Linked DNA regions of Homo sapiens: region 2 is linked to region 1. The links are contacts of gene promoters, found by promoter capture Hi-C in human tissues and cell types (Jung and others, 2019). All regions are on one chromosome and are shown on one strand. The core of a region is centred on a gene start or on the middle of the fragment in contact, and the rest is flanking DNA. Distances in the headings are between cores, read along the strand shown.

Region 1 (3,282 bases), core at 554-3,053:
TCTGGAAAGATAATTGTATCATAAAGCAACATAGGCATTATGCCCTCTCTCTCTCCCTCTCCCTCTCCCCCTCCCCCTCCCCCTCCCCATGGTCTCCCTCTCTTTCCACGGTCTCCCTCTCATGCGGAGCCGAAGCTGGACTGTACTGCTGCCATCTCGGCTCACTGCAACCTCCCTGCCTGATTCTCCTGCCTCAGCCTGCCGAGTGCCTGCGATTGCAGGCACGCACCGCCACGCCTGACTGGTTTTGGTGGAGACGGGGTTTCGCTGTGTTGGCTGGGCCGGTCTCCAGCCCCTAACCGCGAGTGATCCGCCAGCCTCGGCCTCCCGAGGTGCCGGGATTGCAGACGGAGTCTCGTTCACTCAGTGCTCAATGGTGCCCAGGCTGGAGTGCAGTGGCATGATCTCGGCTCGCTACAACCTACACCTCCCAGCCGCCTGCCTTGGCCTCCCAAAGTGCTGAGATTGCAGCCTCTGCCCGGCCGCCACCCCGTCTGGGAAGTGAGGAGTGTCTCTGCCTGGCCGCCCATCGTCTGGGATGTGAGGAGCCCCTCTGCCTGGCTGCCCAGTCTGGAAAGTGAGGAGCGTCTCCGCCCGGCCGCCATCCCATCTAGGAAGTGAGGAGCGCCTCTTCCCGGCCGCCATCACATCTAGGAAGTGATGAGCGTCTCTGCCCGGCCACCCATCGTCTGAGATGTGGGGAGCACCTCTGCCCCGCTGCCCCATCTGGGATGTGAGGAGCGCCTCTGCCCGGCCGCGACCCCGTCTGGGAGGTGAGGAGCGTCTCTGCCCGGCCGCCCCGTCTGAGAAGTGAGGAGACCCTCTGCCTGGCAACCACCCCGTCTGAGAAGTGAGGAGCCTCTCCGCCCGGCAGCCACCCCATCTGGGAAGTGAGGAGCGTCTCTGCCCAGCAGCCACCCCATCCGGGAGGGAGGTGGGGGGGGGTCAGCCCCCCGCCCGGCCAGCCGCCCCGTCCGGGAGGGAGGTGGGGGGGTCAGCCCCCCGCCCGGCCAGCCGCCCCGTCCGGGAGGTGAGGGGCGCCTCTGCCCGGCGGCCCCTACTGGGAAGTGAAGAGCCCCTCCGCCCGGCCAGCCGCCCCGTCCGGGAGGGAAGTGGGGGGGGTCAGCCCCCTGCCCGGCCAGCCGCCCCGTCCGGGAGGTGAGGGGCGCCTCTGCCCGGCCGCCCCTACTGGGAAGTGAGGAGCCCCTCTGCCTGGCCACCACCCCGTCTGGGAGGTGTGCCCAACAGCTCACTGAGAACGGGCCAGGATGACAATGGCGGCTTTGTGGAATAGAAAGGCGGAAAAGGTGGGGAAAAGATTGAGAAATCGGATGGTTGCCGTGTCTGTGTAGAAAGAAGTAGACATGGGAGACTTTTCATTTTGTTCTGCACTAAGAAAAATTCTTCTGCCTTGGGATCCTGTTGATCTGTGACCTTACCCCCAACCCTGTGCTCTCTGAAACATGTGCTGTGTCCACTCAGGGTTAAATGGGTTAAGGGCGGTGCAAGATGTGCTTTGTTAAACAGATGCTTGAAGGCAGCATGCTCGTTAAGAGTCATCACCACTCCCTAATCTCAAGTAATCAGGGACACAAACACTGCGGAAGGCCGCAGGGTCCTCTGCCTAGGAAAACCAGAGACCTTTGTTCACTTGTTTATCTGCTGACCTTCCCTCCACTATTGTCCCATGACCCTGCCAAATCCCCCTCTGTGAGAAACACCCAAGAATTATCAATAAAAAAATAAATTAAAAAAAAATAAAAATAAAAATAAAAAAAAATAAAGCAACATAGGAGTCAACCAATAAGACAGACAAGCTGCAGCCAGGCGCAGTGGCTCACACAACCTGTAATCCCAGCACTCTGCGGGGCCAGGGTGGGTGGATCACCTGAGGTCAGGAGTTCGAGACCAGCCTGGCCAACATGGTAAAACCCCATCTCTACTAAAAATACAAAATTAGCTGGGCATGGTGGCACATGCTTCTAGTCCCAGCTACTTGGGAGGCTGAGGCAGGAAAATTGCTTGAACCTGGCAGGTGGAAGCTGCAGTAAGCTGAGATCGCGCCACTGCACCCCAGCCTGGGCAACAAGAGTGGAACTCTGTCTCGAAAAAAAAAAAAAAAAAGACAAGCTGCATTCCATGGAGTCAGAGACAGCCCTTCAAGGTCCATGTTCCAAAGTTTCCACATTTATACAGGGAAGAAGTTATTCACTCCTTCATTCAAAAGATATTTATTGGCCAGGTGCAGTGGCTAACATCTGTAATCCCAGCATTTTGGGAGGCTGAGGCAGGTGGATCACTTGACGTCAGGAGTTTGAGACCAGCCTGGCCAACATGGTGAAACCCCATCTCTACTAAAAATACAGAAATTAGCTGGGAATGCTGGTGGGCACTTGTAATCCCATCTACTCAGGAGACTAACGCAGGAGGATTACTGGAACCCGGAAGGTGGAGGTTGCAGTGAGTCGAGATCACGCCACTGTACTCCAACCTGGGCGATGGAGTGAGACTCTGTCTCAAAAAAAAAAAAAAAAAAATTTATTGAACACATACTATGGACAGACTCTCAGCTTGGCACTGGGTTTATAAAAATGTTCTGGCCGGGCGCAGTGGCTATCACTTATAATCACAGCACTTTGGGAGGCCAAGGCACATCAATTGCTTGAGCCCAGGGGTTCGAGACCAGCCTAGGGCAACATGGCAAAACCCCATCTCTACAAAAAATACAAAAATTAGCCAGGCATGGTGGCACACTTCTGTTGTTCCACCTACTCAAGAGGCTAAGGTGAGAGGATTGCTTGAGCCCAGAAGGGCAACGCTGCTGTGAACCTTGATTATGCCACTGTACTCCAGCCTGAGTAACAGTACGACATCCTGTCTCAAAAAAAAAAAAAAAAAAAAAGGTCAACACACTGTCCCAGCCACTTGGAAGCAAGCTGGGGAGGGAGATATAAATAAAGCACTATAATACAGTGTGAAAAGTGTGGTGGTGGAGTTATATAGGGGACATCATGGGAACCCCAAAAGGAGTCACAAGAACCCAGGTTTCTGGAGTGGCAGGGCTTTGAAGGATGCACAGGGATTGGGTGGGTGAAGGTAGTAATGATGGTAACTTTTCAGGAAGAAGGCATACCTTGAGCAAAGGTACAGAGGTGAGAAACAGCCTGGTTTTTGCAAAACAAACAAAACACAACAGTCTGCTGTGGCTAGAAGATAAAGCTTGGGGCAGAGAGTGTGGGATGTGCTAGTGTGTTATGTAACGGATCTCAACCTAAAGGGCAG
Region 2 (3,282 bases), core at 516-3,015, 130 kb before region 1:
GCTCTTTTATTCTACCACGGCTGGAGAGTTGATACCTGCAGTCAGCCTGCCAGTGACTCTTAGTGTCTGTTTCTGACTTATTTTTCCTGTCTCTGTCTTCCAACCCCCAATAATATTTCCACCGGGGATGCATCATTTTTACTCCCAATATTCTGTAGAGAGGGAGTCAGGATGCTGTCTTCCCACGAATAGTACTCAGTAACAAACCAATTGCATTTTAGTTGGGCAGTGCTCCCACCCACCCTCCAGATCCCTTCCAGCTAAAACCCTTCCCCCTTCCCTCCATGTGTTTCTCAGTTTCCCGTTTCGTTTGTTGGACTGTTCCACTGCCCCTCCTCCTCACCCTATCACCCATGGATCGTAATGTAAAATTCTTTTACCATGTCAAGAAATTATTAAAAATACAGGTACTTTGACCTCTTTCTAAAGCCGCAGACCCTGGTGCAATGCTCTGGTGGCTAGGGATGTACTCATGCTCATATGTGTGCACGCTTGGACACCCACCTCCATGGACACCTAGCCACCCTGTTGTGTGTCCTTATGCCAGTTGAGCTGAATCTTTTCCCCAGTATAGTGGAAAGACTGAGGCTTCTGCCTACTGAGCAAGGTTGGGTGCTTCATTTGTGTTCAGTCTGAATTATGGGAAAGTTAGCTCTTCCCAGACCTAAGCTGCCTTCTCTCCCTACTTTCAGAAGATCCTAGTTCCTTCCTTCCCGAGTGATACCCATGAACTGCCAGTAGAGGCTGCTATCGTTCCATGTGTAAGGAATGAACTGGTTCAAGGCGCGTCCTACCCAGTCATTTTCTTTACCTTATACTAATTCTTCCTGAATAATGTCTTCAGTTTCTTGAGGAGACTCCTAGTTTTGGTTTTCAAATTACTTGGAGGGCTGCCTAGGAATCTATCTCCCTCTGAAATAAAGTTTCCTCATCTTCCACCTTGCAAGTAGCCTTCTGGTTTCCAATGATCCCCTCGTTGTCTCTGTAAAAAGAGTTTAAGGTCTTGAACAATGGAGGAGCAGCTGCTCTGTTCTGTTTCAGAGATGACTACCAAAAGCTAGCGGTTTGTGAGTGCCTCCCCTGTGCCAGGCTGTTAAGTACCTAATGTGCATGATCACATTTAATCTTCAGGAATCTATAGGATAGTTGTATCTATTTGTTACAGATGAGGACACTGAGACTCAGGATAAGTATTTCCGCTAAGGTTACACAGCTGAGGGAACTGGGATTGGTGGACAAACCTGATTACTAAGCCCAGGCCCTCAGCCACTCCACTGGTTGGAAATGGCCTGACTACAAATCAAGGGCTTGGCATTAGGCAACAAGTAGAATTCAGTGCTTACTGCTGAACATGGCAGTGAATCCTGGAGCTGTTGGGATGCAGTTCCTGCCAGGAGGTAGGAAAATGGACAGCTTAGTGCTTGCATGCAGGCTGCAGAACTTAATTGGGCATCTGAGGTTTGTACTCTTCCTGAGACCCATTCCAGGTGGAAACTGGAGGTTAGCATCGTTAACCCAGATTCCCTTTCATCTGGTCTAAATGATGGAAATCAGTAGTTGGTACTGACTGCTACCAGTGGGAGTTCAGGGGCAAGGAAGAGGCTATGCATGTGGAAGCAGTGCCCTGGGCCAAACCACAGGACAGAAAATTGGAACAGAATTACATAAATCAAGGTCAGAAATTTCCTGCCCAACCCATGGGGTGGAGTTTTCTCCCTTCCTATCCATCCTAGCGAATATAAACCCCGACTTGATGTCAGTAACTGGAAGGAGCAGCTGTTAGAATTCTGATTTCAGCTCTCAGCATCCACCATGCATCTCAAGATAGTCCTGGCGTTCCTGGCACTGTCCCTCATTACCATCTTTGCCCTGGCCTATGTTTTGCTGACCAGCCCAGGTGGTTCCAGCCAGCCTCCCCACTGCCCCTCTGTATCCCATAGGGCCCAGCCCTGGCCACACCCTGGCCAGAGCCAGCTGTTTGCAGACCTGAGCCGAGAGGAGTTGACAGCTGTGATGCGCTTTCTGACCCAGCGGCTGGGGCCAGGGCTGGTGGACGCAGCCCAGGCTCAGCCCTCGGACAACTGCATCTTCTCAGTGGAGCTGCAGCTGCCCCCCAAGGCTGCAGCCCTGGCCCACCTGGACAGGGGGAGCCCCCCACCTGCCCGGGAGGCACTGGCCATCGTCCTCTTTGGTGGACAACCCCAACCCAATGTGAGTGAGCTGGTGGTGGGGCCGCTGCCTCACCCCTCGTACATGCGGGATGTGACTGTGGAGCGTCACGGCGGGCCCCTGCCCTATCACCGTCGCCCGGTGCTGAGAGCTGAGTTTACACAGATGTGGAGGCATCTGAAAGAGGTGGAGCTACCCAAGGCACCCATCTTCCTGTCGTCCACCTTCAACTACAATGGCTCTACCCTGGCAGCTGTGCATGCCACCCCTCGGGGCTTGCGCTCAGGGGACCGAGCTACCTGGATGGCCCTCTACCATAACATCTCAGGGGTTGGTCTTTTCCTTCACCCCGTGGGGCTGGAGCTACTACTGGACCACAGGGCCCTGGACCCTGCCCACTGGACTGTCCAGCAGGTCTTCTACCTTGGGCACTACTATGCAGACTTGGGCCAGTTGGAACGGGAGTTTAAGTCTGGCCGGTTGGAAGTGGTTAGAGTCCCTCTACCTCCACCAAATGGAGCTTCATCCCTGAGGTCTCGGAACTCTCCAGGTCCTCTTCCCCCTCTTCAGTTCTCGCCCCAGGGTTCCCAGTACAGTGTGCAAGGAAACCTGGTGGTATCCTCCCTCTGGTCATTTACCTTTGGCCATGGGGTGTTCAGCGGCCTGAGGATTTTTGATGTTCGGTTCCAGGGTGAGCGAATAGCCTATGAAGTCAGTGTCCAGGAGTGTGTATCTATCTATGGTGCCGATTCACCCAAGACGATGCTGACTCGCTATTTGGATAGCAGCTTTGGACTCGGCCGTAACAGCCGAGGCTTGGTGCGGGGAGTGGACTGCCCCTATCAAGCCACGATGGTGGACATCCATATATTAGTGGGCAAAGGGGCAGTCCAGCTGCTTCCAGGGGCTGTGTGTGTATTTGAGGAAGCCCAGGGACTGCCCCTTCGAAGGCACCACAATTACCTTCAAAATCATTTCTATGGTGGTTTGGCCAGCTCAGCCCTTGTGGTCAGGTCTGTGTCATCTGTGGGCAACTATGACTACATTTGGGACTTTGTGTTGTACCCAAATGGGGCACTTGAAGGGCGGGTCCATGCCACGGGTTATATCAAC

What was found. The method cuts DNA at HindIII sites, captures the fragments that hold promoters and counts their contacts. A contact is called where the count stands out against the background at its distance.
Region 2: the fragment with the promoter of AOC2 here is called in contact with a fragment that was not itself captured in region 1 in 3 of the 25 tissues and cell types used here (IMR-90 fibroblasts, lymphoblastoid cells and mesenchymal stem cells).

Annotation. Positions count from the first base shown.
Region 1 is chr17:42,972,255-42,975,536 of GRCh38, forward strand. The region is part of intron 4 of PTGES3L-AARSD1 (PTGES3L-AARSD1 readthrough); the gene reads right to left. All of the region lies in intron 4 of PTGES3L (prostaglandin E synthase 3 like), which reads right to left. Among named protein-coding and RNA genes, the nearest start is that of PTGES3L, 6.2 kb to the right of the region's middle. RefSeq lists an enhancer at 375-941. The HindIII fragment of the contact is 3,653 bases long and covers 1-3,282 here.
Region 2 is chr17:42,842,815-42,846,096 of GRCh38, forward strand. AOC2 (amine oxidase copper containing 2) reads left to right here and starts at 1,766. Exons shown (of 4, transcript NM_009590.4): 1 at 1,766-3,282. The coding sequence starts at 1,813. It overlaps PSME3 (proteasome activator subunit 3), which reads left to right. Exons shown (of 11, transcript NM_005789.4): 11 at 1-946. The HindIII fragment of the contact is 18,620 bases long and covers 1-3,282 here.